Linked DNA regions of Homo sapiens: region 2 is linked to region 1. The links are contacts of gene promoters, found by promoter capture Hi-C in blood cells and fetal thymus (Javierre and others, 2016). All regions are on one chromosome and are shown on one strand. Each heading gives the region's core, a stretch centred on a gene start or on the middle of the fragment in contact. The rest is flanking DNA. Distances are from core to core; before and after follow the strand shown.

Evidence for each region. Contacts are between HindIII fragments. The CHiCAGO score rates a contact against its expected background, and 5 or more counts as called.
Region 2: a fragment that was not itself captured here is called in contact with the fragment with the promoter of BLOC1S4 in region 1 in 2 of 17 cell types (neutrophils and megakaryocytes); the score reaches 5.9 in neutrophils.

Annotation. Positions count from the first base shown.
Region 1 is chr4:6,712,141-6,719,970 of GRCh38, reverse strand. BLOC1S4 (biogenesis of lysosomal organelles complex 1 subunit 4) reads right to left here and starts at 3,797. Exons shown (of 1, transcript NM_018366.3): 1 at 2,307-3,797. The coding sequence starts at 3,761. The coding sequence ends at 3,108. LOC105378240 (a long non-coding RNA gene) reads right to left here. Exons shown (of 3, transcript XR_001741568.3): 2 at 6,104-6,160; 3 at 5,826-5,947. RefSeq lists enhancers at 2,756-3,395, 3,878-4,077 and a silencer at 3,548-3,597. The HindIII fragment of the contact is 17,705 bases long and covers 1-7,830 here.
Region 2 is chr4:6,565,995-6,573,824 of GRCh38, reverse strand. It overlaps LOC105374365 (a long non-coding RNA gene), which reads right to left and starts at 5,096. Exons shown (of 3, transcript XR_925098.3): 1 at 4,700-5,096; 2 at 218-316. RefSeq lists an enhancer at 1-440. The HindIII fragment of the contact is 5,024 bases long and covers 764-5,787 here.

The DNA.
Region 1 (7,830 bases), core at 2,548-5,047:
TGGCCTCCAGTGATCCTCTGGCCTAGGCCTCCCAAAGCCCTGGGAATACAGGCATGAGCCACTGTGCCTGAATCTGGATAACTTCTCAGCACATAAAAGGAGTCTTCTTAGAAGGATAGTTTTGTAAGTTCTGTATCAACATCCCAGGGCACGATTAGGAACAAAGCCCCATTGGAGCCCACGGGAATGTCTGTGTGGTGTTTGACTGAACCTTAGGTTGGACTCAACTGGATTGGGCGTCTGACTTTCTCACCCACTGGCCTGCCCAGCTCTTGGGAAAGAATCACATCTTGTTTTTCTTTGTGTCCTAGTCTTCCCATGGTGCTTGATTTCTGAGCCAGCCCTTAGTCTGACTGAATTCTCCTGTCTGCCTTTCTGTCTCGCATTCCTTATGGAGTGCCTACATTTTGTGTAGTCGTTCATTCACTCAGTCACTCTGACAATCGCTTATTGCACAGATATGTGAGTGTACCAGGGATGTGCTACCTGCTTGCTGAGCATGCAGCCAAGTGGATGCAGCTAACATCCACTTGTTACTCCAGGTGAGTAAGGCAGACAGTCATCAGATAATGACACAAACACATTTCACAAACTGTAACAAGCGCTATGAAGGGGACAGTTCATATGTCCCCTTTCCATATCCTCATATGAAAGATGCTATGGGGCATCTTTCGAGGTCAAGGGAAGGCTGCAGGGGAGTGAGCAAGGGGGCAGGAGCCACCTCAAGCCAGAGAACAGAAATTGGGCTTTATTCTAATATGAAGAGAAGCTAATGAGAGCTTTAGGCAAAGCCCAATATGTCTGATTTATGTTGTTTAAAGACCCCTTTGGCTGATGTGTTACATGCGGGAGTGGCTTGGAGCGGGGAAGGGGAAGCAGGAGACCACTTAAGAGGCTGTTGAGTGGCCCAGGAGAGATGCCAGTGGCTTGGATGGGTTGGGTAGCAGTGGGGATGGACAGAGCACTGGGAATATGCATTGTGGGAGTGCCAAGGTGGATAGGTGGATATTAGTTCTTTTTTCTTTTTTTTCAGACAGAGTCTTGCTCTGTCGCCCCGGCTGGAGTGCAGTGGCGTCATCTCCGCTCCGACTCCCGGGTTCACACCATTTTCCCGCCACAGCCTCCTGAGTAGCTGGGACCACAGGCGCCCACCACCATGCCTGGCTAATTTTTTTTTTTTTTTTTTGTATTTTTAGTAGACAGGGTTTCACCATGTTAGCCAGGATGGTCTCGATCTCCTGACCTTGTGATCCGCCTGCCTCAGCCTCTCAAAGTGCTTGTGAACTACCGCGCCCGGCCCCTAATTACTGCTTTTGAATGTTAACTTTAAGTGAAAAATCTTTTAGCAATGTTTTGTTATGTAAGGATATTTTCATATTCAGTGACTATGTCATCGAAACACATGAATTACTTATAGGGGTACCAGCAGTTGCTGAATATTAAATGTAGGTTACTTGTTCTTTCAGCTTCTACATTCAGAGTTCCTTAATTTGTCGTCAATGAACCACCTGAATAAAAAACGTAAATATGTGACAATGAAGGTCCACGAAAGCTAGGTGCAAGATTACATGATCAGATTCTTCACAACACACAGCTAAATGAAAATACAGCTACTCTATGAACCTCAAAGATCTTTGATGACACTGCAAATGACACAAAAGCAACCTAAGCTGTATGCTTTTTTAGCATCTACTATTTAGGAGGGCCACCTTATAAAATAGATTTGAATCTCAATAAAAGTCTACTGTATCCGCAGGAAAATCCTAATACCATTCACTCACACAAATAATTTAACTATCCATTTCGAGAGGAAAGAAATATACCATGCTCTGGACGGGCGCGGTGGCTCACGCCTGTAATCTCAGCACTTTGGGAGGCCGAGGCAGGTGGATCACGAGGTCAGGGGATCGAGACCATCCTGGCTAACACAGTGAAAACCCGTCTCTACTAAAAAAAAATACAAAATACAAAAAAAATTAGCCGGGCATGGTGGCAGGCGCCTGTAGTCCCAGCTACTCAGGAGGCTGAGGCAGGAGAATGGCGTGAACGCGGGAGGCGGAGCTTGCAGTGGGCCGAGATTGCGCCACTGCACTCCAGCCTGGGCGACAGAGCATGACTCCGTCTCAAAAAAAAAAAAAAAAAAAAAAAAGAAAAGAAATATACCATGCTCTGAAATAGAAGCTACAGCTTTTCACATTAGCTCTCTAAAGGAGGTATACTCAAGCCCCTTTTCTTTATCCCACTACTAAAAAAGCACATGAGCAGTACGTCTATTTCAAACACACACAAGGAAATACGTAAAGCTCTTTTCAGAAGGAAATCATTTCCAATAAAACTCAAAATTTCTATTAACATTTAAATTATAAACCAAACATTGGCAACCCACATATATATATACACACACACACACATATGTTTGCTATGGACAAATGAAGACTGTGAGGTCATACTTTCAAATACAACTTTGGAATTAGTCACAAAAAATCAACATATATTCTCAGAAATTGTACCATTTCCTTTGGTCTACAATCCACGCTATAGGAGGTTTAATATAATATTAAATAATGTACCATTTACCCTAAAAGTAGGTTCTAGAAAACTGACTATTAGGATTGAATAACAAGGCTTTAATGGCTCAATTTTCTTATGATTATACAAACATATAAATCTTGAAAAGGTAACGCCATTTAGTAAAATCCATAAAAATAACAGTTTTGCCACAGTGCAGAGAAAAGTTCATTCAGTTTGATTCCCCATGCCCTCGACAAGCAGCTTTCTGATTAGAGCTGGAAGACACAGGCTGGGTGCAGTGGCGACCCCGTAGTCCCAGCTACTGGGGAGGCTGAGGTGGAAGGATCACTTGAGCCCAGGAGTTTCCGAACAGTCTGGGCAACATACCAAGACCCTGTCTCTTTTTTTAAACTTGGAAGACATAAAGTCTATACATTCTACACTGAATCATGAATATACTACGGAGAGTTTGTAGAAAGTAAACTTTAAAATCCCACACTCCAACATCATATATGTCCATAAGCAGGATTTGCAATTCACTTCATACTGGAGGTAAGCACCCCAGCTGGGGTCCTCTTGCCGCAGTGGTCAGGCCGTCAGAGCTGAGGCCTTTCACTGCAACAAGGGAAGTAGTCTTCGGTCCGAAACAGGACGGGGGCTTCGTAGCCGGCTTGCTGTGGCCTCGAGGGAGCAGACTTGCTAAAGAGCGAGGGCACGTTCATCGTGTGCAGGAGCTTCTTGAACGCCCTGGGGAAGGTGCCCAGCTCGGCCTCGGCCTTGGTGACCTGCTCCTCCATCCTGGCCACGCGGCCCCCCACCATCCTCACGAAGGCCTCCAGCCGGTCGATCCTGCTGTAGATGCGCCGCATCTCGGCGGCCTTCGCGTGGATGCGCGGCACGCCCTCGCTGACGACGTGGGACGAGTCGCCGCGAAGCATGTCCAGCATGCCCACGAACTCGTCCACTCTGGTAAGCAGGTCCTCTAGGCTCGCGTCCAGGGCCTCGACCTCGGGCCGCGCCCCGGCCCCGGGCAGCAGGCAGGCGGCGTAGCCCGCAGCGGCGCGGCGAAGCAGCGGCAGGTCGCGGCCCGGCGCGCCGTCCTCCGCGCCCTCGTCCTCCCACGGCCCCGAGGCGCTGCTGTGGCTCTGGGAAACAGTGCCACTGTCCCCGCTCCAGGCGGCGCCCTGCGGCTCGGCCTCTTCCGCGAGCCCCTCCGGCAGCGCTCCGCCATCCGAAAAGCTACCCTCCATGGCCCGCGACCACCCGACTGCGCAGCGCTCGCTTCCGGCCTCCGCGCGCTCACGCTCACGCACCCGCACACGCACGCACGCGCGCTCACGCCTTTGCTTCCGGCGGCCTGCGAGGGCGTCTGTTCACGCGCATCCACCTTTGTTTCCGGCCTCCCAGCGCGCTCACGCTCACGCATGCGCGCTCACGCTCACGCATGCGCGCTGCTGTTTTCTCACGCCCGAACTCACATTCAACCTTTTTTTTCTTTTTTAAGCGAAGGTATAGCAGGAATACAATACAGTGCATACATTTTAAGTGTGCACATTGATGACTTTGTACACATCCATACAACCATGCATCTTCTATCCAGACCAACAGGTAGGACATGTCCAGCACCCATGAACGTCTCCCTCCTGTCCTTCATTTCTTTTTGCTGTTTATAGTAAAATAAATGAGATAAGCAAGACGAAACACAAAAGGGATGGACCTTGACGACTTTGGATGATTTTTAAAGTCCTCAGCTTCGCCTGATTGCAAATGGCGTAAAACTAAGAAATAGTAATAGTTTCCAAGCAAATATCAAATCCAGGGTACTGCCAGAAAAAAACAAAGGTGAAGTTGAGATGTGACGGTTAAATCCTTTAAAATCTCAAAAAAAAAAGCAAAGACGGTGCCTGAGAATACCATTCAGTTAGACTAACAGCTCCTTAAAGAGATTAATGGTGTGGCTCACAGAGTCCATCAGTCAAACCACAAGGCCTCCAGAAGGCTTAAGGCTTGTTCGTCAGTATTAGCAGAAGCCCAAGATAGAGATGGACTTATCTCAAAGGGATTTGTAGGTAGCACTTTTGTTTAACGGAGTGAACCCCGATGAGATTCACAGGAGACCTATAAAGTTTTTTAAAGATAATTATATTGACACAAACATTGCAGATTGGACTGAAAGGAACAGGCCTTTGGATCCCCTCTCCCCAAACTTGTACAAGCAGGAATCAGACTGAGAAAAAGACTCATTGGCAAACACATGCCACATTTCACAAAAAAGGAAGTATAACTCAGGGCATGAAACCAGGAGCCCAGATGGTGGAACTGGGAGTCATGGAGTCCTAGACCTTGAGACTGGATGGCAGAGTTACTGTGGGCTGGCAACTTGTTTGTACTTCCAATTTCCCCCTTTTTGAACAGGAGTGGCAGTGGCTAATCTAGTCGTAGTGGAGCAGAACAGGTCTGTAGTGATTATCCTGTGCCAGCCCCACAACTGTATATTCCAGGCATGGGGGCAGAGAACTTGTCTCCTTAGTTTCAAAAGTCTACAGATCAAGAAGAATTGTACTCTAGGAGCTGAATTTAAGGAACTAAGCTCAGAAAGCCTCATCTACATCTGATCTTATTGAGAAGACAAAATTCTGGACTTAAAGCTGATGTGACAATAGGATAGTAATACCTAAAACTACATGAGATTTAAAAAAATGTAACTTTTGGGGACCTTGGATAGAGGGGAGTGTGGTTAGCACGTTAAAATGGCATGAAGAATTGGTAGTCAGGGGGCAAACTGTGATTGCTAGCCAGCCTTCAAGATGACTCCCAGTGATTTCTTACTCCTGGTATTCTCACTCTTGTGTATTCCCTCTTGTCGAGTATGTACTGGACTTAGTGACTTCATTTGCTCATAATAAACTGAAAAACACAGAAGTGATGATGTATGATTTGGACATTAGTTCATGAAAGGTAGTGTGGCATCTCTTTCCTTCCAACCTGCGAAAGGAAGATAAATCTTGGGGTCCTACAATTACTAAGCTAAAAGAAAAGTCAAGTTGGAAACTGCTTAGGGCAAACCTGCCTCACATTCTATTCACAGTCACTTCTCCGCTCACTGAGATAAATGCGTATCTGATTGCCACCTTTGGAGAGGCTAATCAGAGACTCAAAATGTCTGGGCGCGGTGGCTTACGCCTGTAATCCCAGCACTTTGGGAGGCTGAGGTGGGTGGATCATTTGAGATCACGAGTACAAGACCAGCCTGGCCAACATGGTGAAACCCTCTTTTAAAAATACAAAAATTAGCCGGTTGTGGTCGTACACACCTGTAATCCCAGCTACTTGGGAGACTGAGGCAGAAGAATTGCTTGGACCTGGGAGGCGCAGGTTGCAGTGAGCCGAGATCACGCCACTGCTCTCCAGCCTGGGCGACAGGGTGAGACTCCATCTCAAAATAAATAAATAAATAAATAAATAAAATTTTAAAAGAAAGAAAGAAAAAAAGAAACTCAATAGAATGCAACCATTTTTCTCTCATCTACCCAAGACCTGGAAGCCCCCTCCCCGCTTCAAGTTGTCCTGCCTTTGCTTTGAGTTGTCTCACCTTTCCGGACCAATCCATCGTTCATCTTAGATATGTTGATCGATGTCTCATGTCTCCCTAAAATGTATAAAACCAAGCTGTGCTCTGACCACCTTGGACACATGTCATCAGGACCTCCTGAGGCTGTGTCACGGGCACACATCCTCAACCTCGGCAAAATAAACTTTCTAAATGAACTGAGACCTGTCTCAGATATTGGGGGTTCACAAACCACTTGCTCTGGGGAAACCAGCTGCCTTGTTGTGAGCAGCTCCATGGAGAAGCCCATATAGCAAAGAACTGAGACCAACAGCTAGGGAAAAACAGCCTCTTTCCAACAACTACATGAGTAAGTCATCCTGGAAGGGGATGCTCCATCCTCATTCAAACTCAGAAATGACTGCAGCCCCAGCTGATAGGTTGACTGCAACCTCATGTAAGATACTAAACTGAAATGACATAAGATAATGCTATGGTCTGAATATTTGTGTCCTCACATCCAAATTCATATATTTAAATTCTACCCCAGAAGGTGATTGATAGGGTTTGGATGTCCTGCCCAAATCTCATGTTGAAATGTAATCTCCAGTGTTGGAGCTGGAGCCTGGTGGGAGGTGACTGGGTCATGGGGACAGATTTCTCATGAATGGTTTAGCGCCATCCCGTTTGTGCTGTTCCTGTGATGAGTGAGTTCTCGTGAGATCTAGTCATTTAAAGTGTGTGGCACCTCCTGTCACCTCTTGCTCCTGCTTTGGTCATGTGACATGCCTGCTCTCCTTTTGCTTTCCGCCATGATTGTAAGTTTCCTGAGGCCTCCCCACAAACCAAGCAGATGCCAGCACCCTGCTTCCTGTAGAGCCTGCAGAACCCTTAGCCAATTAAGCCTTTTTTCTTCACAAATTACCCGGTCTCAGATATTCCTTTATAGCAATGTGAGAACAGCCTAACACAGTGATGATATCAGGAGATGGGGCCTTTGGGAAGTGATCTGGTCATGGGGTCAGAGCCCTCATGAATGTGACTAGTACCCTTATAAAGGATATAAGGCCAGCTGCAGTGGCTCATGCCTGTAATCCCAACACTTTGGGAGGAAGAGGCAGGAGAATTGTTTGAGGCTAAGAGTTTGAGACCAGCCTGGGCAACATAGCAAGACCCCCGTCTCTAAAAAAAATTTTTTTTAAAGCTGGGTGTGGTGCCATGTGCCTGTAGCCCCAGCTACTCAGGAGGTGGAGGCTGGAGGATCACTTGAGCTCAGGAGTTTGAAACAGTGAGCTATGCTCATTCCACTGCACTTTAGCCTGTGCAAAAGAGCAAGACTTTGTCTACAAGTAAATACACAAAAGATGTATAAGAGGGCCGGGCACGGTGGCTCATGCCTGTAATCCCAGCACTTTGGGAGGCTGTGGCGGGTAGATCACCTGAGGTCAGGAGTTCAAGACCAGCTTGGCCAACATAGTGAAACCCCATCTCTACTAATAATACAAAAATTAGCCAGGCGTGATGACAGGCACCTGTAATCCCAGCTACTCAGGAGGCTGAGGCAGGAGAATCGCTTGAACCCGGGAGGCAGAGGTTTCAGTGAGCAGAGATTGTGTCACTGCACTCCAGCCTGGGCGACAAGAGTGAAACTCAATCTCCAAAAGAAAAAAAAAAAAGGATGCATAAGAGAGACCCCTTGCTCCTTCCATCCTGTGAGGACACAGCAAGAAGGAACGGTTTATGAACCAAAATACTAGCCCTCACCAGAC
Region 2 (7,830 bases), core at 2,026-4,525, 150 kb after region 1:
GGTCAGATGGTCTGAGCCTGACGTGGACAGTACTCACTAACACATGTCCCCATGACCGGCCAGGCTCACAGCTGGGCTCCACTCTCCAGCCTCTGCAACCAGGTGCGGCCACGTGGCTAAGTGCTAGTCAATGGGATGGGTGGGGGCGGGCACTGTGCTCCTCTTCCAGGCTGGCCCCTAACAACCTCCTGTGGGTGAGCCCTGCTCTCTTACTCACCCACTGCTCCAGTGGAGGGCACTCCGAGGACCTCAGGGAGGTTAGAGCCACCAATGGAGGCTCTGAAGAACCACATGGAACCATGAGGAACCCAAAGAGCTGTGACAAGAGGGAGAAATAAGCTTTAATTGTGTTAAGCCACTGAGTTTATCGATAAGGCAGTGTCACAATCTTTGGCAGACTGTATCTGCCAAAGATGGGCTCCACAACATTACCCACCCCCCAAGCTCTTTGTAGAATTTGGTTGACGAGAAAAGCCACACTCTAAAATATCTCAGAACGTTTATTCTAAGCCAAATAGGAGTGACCATGGCCTGTGACACAGCCTCAGGAGGTCCTGAGAACAGGTGCCCAAGGTGGTTGGGCTATAGCTTTATACATTTTATGGGGACAGAAGTTACAGGCAAAGACATGAATCAATATATGTAAAGTATACATTGGTTTGGCCCAGAAAGGTGGGACATCTTGAAGTGGGTGGGTGGTGCTTCCAGGTCAGAGGAGGATTCAAAGATTTCCTGATTGGCAATTGGTTAAAAGAGTTAAGCTTTACCTGAAGAGTTGGAGTCGGCAGAAAGAAATGCTTGAGTTAAGACAATGGGGATGTGGAAGCTAAGGTTCTTGTTACATAGATGAAGCCTCCAGTTAGCAGGCTTCAGAGAGAATAGATGTGCATGTCTCTGGGGACCTTAAAAGGTATCAGACTCTCTGGAAAAGAGCTAGTAAGTAAGGAGATTCTCTACAGAATGCAAGTTTCCCCCACAAGAGATGACTTTGCAAGTCCATTTCAAAATATGTCAAAGAAAATTTATTTTGGGGTAAAATACTTTGATTTCCTTTAGGGCCTGCTCTCTGTCGTGTGTTGCTATACCAGAGTCATGTTAGAATCGGGTATCTGATTGCTACAAAAGTGTTCTGTCAGTCTTAGGAGGATCTCTATGTTAATGTTAATGCTGGTCAGCTGTGCCGAAACTTAAAGGGAGGAGGCTATGATGAGGCATGTGTGACCTCCCACTTCCCATCATGGCCTGAACTAGTTTTTTGGGTTTCTTTGGGGTCCCCTTGGCCGACAGGGGGTCCATTCTCTCAGCTGGGGCTTATAATTTTATTTTTGATTTACAATATGATCTTGACATTCTTCCTATTAGGAGATAGGGTCTATGTCTCCTCTCATTGAATCTTGTTTATTTATTGTTTTTTATTTTATTAATTTTTGTGTTTTTTAGAGATAGAGTCTTGCTCTGTTGCCCAGGCCAGAGTGCAGTGGTGGACTCCTAACTTACTTCAGCCTCAAACTCCTAGGCTCACGTGATCCCCCTGTTTCAGCCTCCTGAGTAGCTGAGACCACAGGTATGTGCCATCATGCCTGGCTAATGAAAACTTTTTTTTTTCTTTTTTTTTTAGATATAATATCCCGTTATGTTGCCCAGGCTGATCTTGAACTCCTGGGCTCGAGGCATCCTCCCACCACCATCTCACAAAGTGCTGAAATTATAGGTGTATGCCACCATGCCCAACTAATTTTTCTTTTCTTTTTTGTAGACAAGATCTCTCTATGTTGCCCAGGCTGGTCTCAAACTCCTAGCCTCAAGGGATTCTCCGAAAGTGTTGGGATTACATGCATAAGCCACTGTGCCTGGCCCATGGGCGGGCTTGTGACACACTTGTTACAAAGAGAATGTAGTGAAAGTTGTACTGTGTGACTTCCATGACATCCATGTTCACTGGAGCACTCGTGCCTGGAGGCCTGAGTTGCCCTGTCAGCAGTCCAACTACCCTGAGGCCACCATGCTGTGAGGAAGCCCAACCAGCCCACATGGGGCAGACCACAGGGAGCAGCTCAAGATCACCATGCTGTTTCAGCTCCAGCCCCCCATCTGACTACAACAACATGTGAGACCTCATGTCATTTTCTCTCCTGCCCACTGTATCACAGCTGTGTAGGGTTTCATTTGTACTTTCCTCAAGGCTCTTGCGTGAGCTCTTGCTGCAGCTAGTCTCAGGCTTGAAGGTGATACTCACAACCCCCTCCTGGATTATTCATTCAGATCCCTTTCACCCTCAGCTAGACCCATGCTGGACTAGATAGCTTACCTGGTGGGTTGCCCCAGATCCTCACCAACGAGGATGAGCCCCTGGTGACCATTCCCTTCTTGAGCCATAGCTGCTCACTTGCCTATTTGCTGACTACATCAGGTGAAAGAGTCCTGAGGGACACCCATGTGGGTGGCACACAGTCTTCTCTGCTTCCATTGTGTGACAGCAACCCTACCTCCTCTGATGGTTCAGGTCAACTGCCCCTGCTCGATGGGTGACTCTTCCCCTGCCTACTGGTGTCTTGACATGAGTAGCCTGGCGTGACTGGTGTCGCTTGGTGGAAGCATTCCCCTTTGGAAACCAGAACCTCTGAACCTACAGAATCTGTAGTTGTGTGGACAGGAAGCACATATTCTCCAAGTAGGTCACTGAGAGTGATGCTAAATTAGGCTATTCCTGCTTCCATTCTTTGGTTCTTAGGCCCAGGTATTTTACCCACTGGGGACATCGTGTACTGGTCATTGACTTGGGATGTACATACACCCTGGAGGATGGTGCCCTTGCTTCACAGGTGGCACCTCCAAGCTGGTGCTGTGGCTGAGCCTTCAACTGGCCACTCCATTTCCCCATCAGCCAGCAGCCTCTGGGTTGTACAGCACATAATAGGACCACTAGACACCATGGGTGTGCCTGCGGTTGCACCTCTTTTGCTGTGAAGTGGAGCCCTTGGCCTGATGTGATGTTACACCCTCGCTTGGGGCTCTAATACTGGAGCAAGCCGGCCACCATGTCATGAGGACTCTCAAGCCATCTGTGGAGAGGCCCATCTACAGAGGAACAGAGGCCTCCCACCAACAGCCGGCACTGTCTTGCCAGCCCGGGTGTGAGTGCCTTGGAAGCAGGCCCTCCAGCCCAGGCCCAGCCATTCCAGAGGACATCCTGACTGCAACCTCAGGGAGGCCCACAAGGCACAACACACAGCGAAGCCACCCTGGATTCTTCACCTGCAGACACCGGGATGATCATAAACGTCTATTGCTGCTTTCAGCCACATTTCTTGAAATATTTGGGTATTTTTCCCTAGTGTCTGGTTACCTGAGTCAATGAGCATCAGTCCTGTTGGGGAAGGAGTAGGGGATTCCCATAGGCCTTTGTTACGATGTTGCAGAGTCCTTCTTCCTGGAAACACGCTTTTCCTTTCAGTGGATGGGATCTGGACTTGAAAACTGGCTCAGGTCTGGACACTGGGCAAGGGATCAGGATTTATCTTTGGGTGGCTACCCTCAACTTCCTAACCCCATCTGCCTTGATTTGTCCAGAGAGGATGGGCCAAGTCTCACCTGTGTCAGCCATCCATCTATCTTGCCTCTTTCTTTCTTTCTTTCCTTCCTTCTTTCTTTCTTTTTCTTTCTTTCTTTCTTTCTTTCTTTCTTTCTTTCTTTCTTTCTTTCCTTCTTTTTCTTTCTTTCTCTCCTTTCTCCTTCCTTCCTTTCTCTCTTTCCTTCCTTCCATCTCATTCCTTCCTTCCTTCCCTTCCCTTCCCTCCCTCCCTTTCTTTCGTCTCTCTTTCTCCTTCCTTCCTCTCTCTCTTTTCTTCCTCCCTTCCTTCCTCCATCTCCTTCCTTCCTTTCTTTCGCTTTCTTTCTTTCTATCTTTCTCCTTCCTTTCTTCCTTCTCCTTCCTTCCATCTCCTTCCTTCCTTCCTTCCCTCCCTCCCTCCCTCCTTTCTTTTTCTTTCTTCCTTCCTTCCTTCTTTCCTTCCTTCCTTCTTTTCTTTTCTTTCTTTCTCTCTCTCTTTCTTTCTTTCTTTCTCTCTCTCTCTCTTCCTTTCTTTCTTTCTTTCTTTCTTTCTTTCTTTCTCTCTCTCTCTCTCTCTCTCTCTTTCTTTCTTTCTTTCTTTCCTCTCTTTCTCTCTTTCTTCTTTCTTTTTTTTGGAGTTTTACTCTTGTTGCCCAGGCTGGAGTGCAATGGCATGATCATGGCTCACTGCAACCTCCACCTCCTGTGTTCAAGCAATTCTCCTGCCTCAGCCTCCCGAGTAGCTGGGATTACAGGAGCCAGCCACCACGGCCTGGCTAATTTTTTTTTTTTTTTAAGTAGAGATGGGGTTTCACCATGTCGGCCAGGTTGGTCTTGAACTCCTGACCTCAGGTGATCTACCTGCCTCAGACTTTCAAAGTGCTAGGATTATAGGCATGAGCCACCACACCCGGCCAGGTGCCGTTTTCTATCAAGCATCTCCATGGCTCGCCGTGGACCTCACTGTGTTCCAGCCTTGGTGCTTGTTAAAGTGATTGCACTGACCTTGCTTCCAGTGGTTTGGTGCAGGCTCCTAGCCCCTTATTTCTGGATCCTCTTATTCCCAGCTCTCTCAGCAAACCTGGTTCTGTAACGGCACCTCCCACCACCCACCCTGGCCTATGGTGGACAGCCCCATCCCTGAGCTACCTGGTGAAGCCGGTGCTGGGTCAGTGGGACGTCCTTGGTGGTGTCTTGTGGAACGCTGTCACCCAGTGGGTTTTCTGCCTGCTCCGGTCCATGCCCACTTCTCTGTCTTTTGATCCCTTCTTCTGTCATCTGCCATCTTTCTCCAAGTTTCAAGAGCCACTTCAGCAGTGCGTTAGCACTGTCTCCTGCTGTTAAATCCGGCATGACTGGTGTGTTAGTCATCTCGGGCTGCCATAAGAAGAAACCACAGACTGAGCGGCTTAAACAGCAGACATTTATTTTCTCCTGGTTCTGGAGGCTGGAAGTCCAAGATCAAGGTACCAGCAGGATCGGTTTCTGGAGAGGGCTCGCTTCTTGGCTTGTAGATGGCTCTCTTCTCCCTGTGTCCTCATATAGCCTTTCCTCTGTGCATGTAAGGCAGGAGGAAGGGGGAGGGAAGGAAGAGGGAGGGAGGGAGAGAGAGAGAGAGAGAATGAGATCTGGTGTCTTTTCCTTGTTTTCTAAGGATACCAGGCTTATCAGGTTAGGGTCTCACCCTGATGACCTCATTTCACCTTAATCACGTCCTTATAGGCCCTATCTCCAAATACAGTCACATTGGAGGTTAGAGCTTCCATCTATGAATTTTTTTGGGGAATACAATTGAGTCCATAACAATGGGAGAAGTCCCCCATTTCATGAGCTCCTCCTGCCCTTGATCCGGTCCCAAGAGCACTGTCCCACCCCCACTGCTCCGTGCTGGCTGGGTCCATAGCTCCTTTGGGGTGTAGTCTTGTCCTCCCTGGCTGGCCCAGCATGTCCCCAGGTGGGTGTGGTTGTGGCTTAACCCCAGTGATGAATCTGGTGGGCGGCACAGGTTATAGGTGGATTCGGAGGGCAGGATGTTTGGTCTTCCACGTTGAAGGCCGCGGTATCATCTTTAGGCAAGGAGAGAGCCTGTTATCCTCTGAGGGAGGACTTGGGCAATTCTGCAGGCCCAGAGTGTCCAGGTAAATCTGGGGAACCACAGGTGGAGACTGTGCATTCACCCAGACATCCCATCGCGCTCTTCTTGGAGTCCCACTCCTTTGTGATCAGGTCTGGAAGCTTGGCATTGCAGACCTGACAAGGTTGGGGACCTGGCCTAGTCTGCAGCACCCCTCTTCATAACTCAGCCCTGGGCTGGTTCTTGCTTTTTTTTTTTTTTTTGAGACAGAGTTTTTGCTCTTGTCTCCCAGCCTGGAGTGCAGTGGCGCGATCTCGGCTCACTGCAACCTCCACCTCCCGAGTTCAAGCAATCCTCCTGCCTCAGCCTCCTGAGTAGCTGGGATCACAGGCGCCTGCCACTACACCCAGCTAATTTTTGTATTTTTAGTAGAGATGGAGTTTCACCCTGTTGGCCAAGCTGGTCTTGAACTCCTAACCTCAGGTGATCTGCCTGCCTCGGTCTCCCAAAGTGCTGGAATTACAGGCGTGAACCATGACACCTGACAGGGATCACATTTCAACATGAGATTTGGAGGGGACAAATATCCAAACTCCATCAGGAGGGTAGGGTAGGGGGTACAGTTTTAAACTGGGTACAATTTAAAGGGGTGCAGTTTTAAATAGCAAAAGCCACATTGAGAAAGTGACATCTGAGCAGGAGGTGCAGAAGAGGGCGGTGTGGATGTCTGGGGACCAACCTTACCAAACTTACTGGGCAGCAGTCACTGCAAGTGCAAAGGCCCTGAGGCAGCACCATACCTGGTAAGCTCAGGAGCCAGCAAGGAGATCCCTGTAGCTGGAATGGAGGGAACCAGGGGAAGAACAACAGGAGGGAAGGTTCTAGAGTGGGGGGCAGTGGGCAGATATGGGGCTTTGGAATTTACTCTGAAGGAGATGGGAGCCATTGCAGGATTTTGAGCAAAGAGTGAGGTGATCTGACTTATGTTGTAAGAGGATCCCTCTGACTGCTGTGTTGCTGGGTGGAGAACACACCAGCCCCGGCCGGGGCAGAAGTGGGGAGACCAAGTAGGAGGTGCGTGCAATAGTCCAGGTGAGACATGATGGTGGCTGGGACCTGGGAATAGCAGTGGGGGTGGTGACATATGGTCGGGCTTGAATGTGTTTTGCAGGAAGAGCTGACGGAAACTGCTGATGAATTTGATGTGCTGTTTGAGCCGTGGGGAGTCAGGGATGATGATGTGGTCTAGGTGCAATGTGCACAGGCCCGTGTTGATACAAAGCATTTATTTCATTTCCCCTTGGTCTCTTCTAATGGCTGGTCTGAGTTGGTTTCTTTTTCCTCCTCAACTGTTTTCTGAGCTGTACCAGCACTGAGAGTGTCCATCCTGGCCTTGGGGACACACCCTTTTGTGGCTAGGGTTGGGGGAGGGGATTCCTCATTGCAGTGAAGTTGGGGGAGTCTCCTGGGTTGGGGGAAGTGTCTGGGCAGCTTCTGTGACAATCTCAGATGAAAGTTCAGCTTCACTTCACGGGGGTTGGCATTTCACTGCAGGGACAGACTACAGCCTAGAAACATTTCTTTCTAAGAACAGGCTCTGGCGTGCCCAGCCCGAAGAGGCTATTTTAGGTTTTGGGTTCTGTTACTTTGGTTACTAGTAGCAAATTGTTGTCAGAAAAAAAGCTGATGCCAAATGTGTATCCCCCCGCCAACCCCCACTCTGAAGAGATGTTCTGCAAAATGCTTCTCATTTGAATCAAAGCTCTGTCATGAAAAACGCAGGTTCCAGAGGGGCCTATACAGCAACGTGGACTCTTTCAGATCATGCTAGTGTTCTCTGGCATTGATGCTCCTCGAAACGGCCATCGCTACCCTTGCGAAGTGTAGTGTGTGCCCTCGCCCTTCTTCATCAGACTTGTCCCAGGTGACTCACAAGGAGCAACAGCCTGACCTCTGCAGGTGTGAGAGTTTGCGATAGGGGCCCACCAGCGCCATCTCCCATTCAGTCTGCACCCTGTGACATCAGCACTCTTCGTCCTCCTGAGCAAGTGGGACAGTTCTGGGGGACTTCCTCTTGCTTTAATGGGCGAACTGCTTGAGACTACGTCCAGTGCCAAACAGTCTTCCCGATCAGCAGCATGGACCCTGGCATACTCCTACCTCCAAACCTTCTATGGCTACCCAGTGTCTCTCAGGAAACCTCATC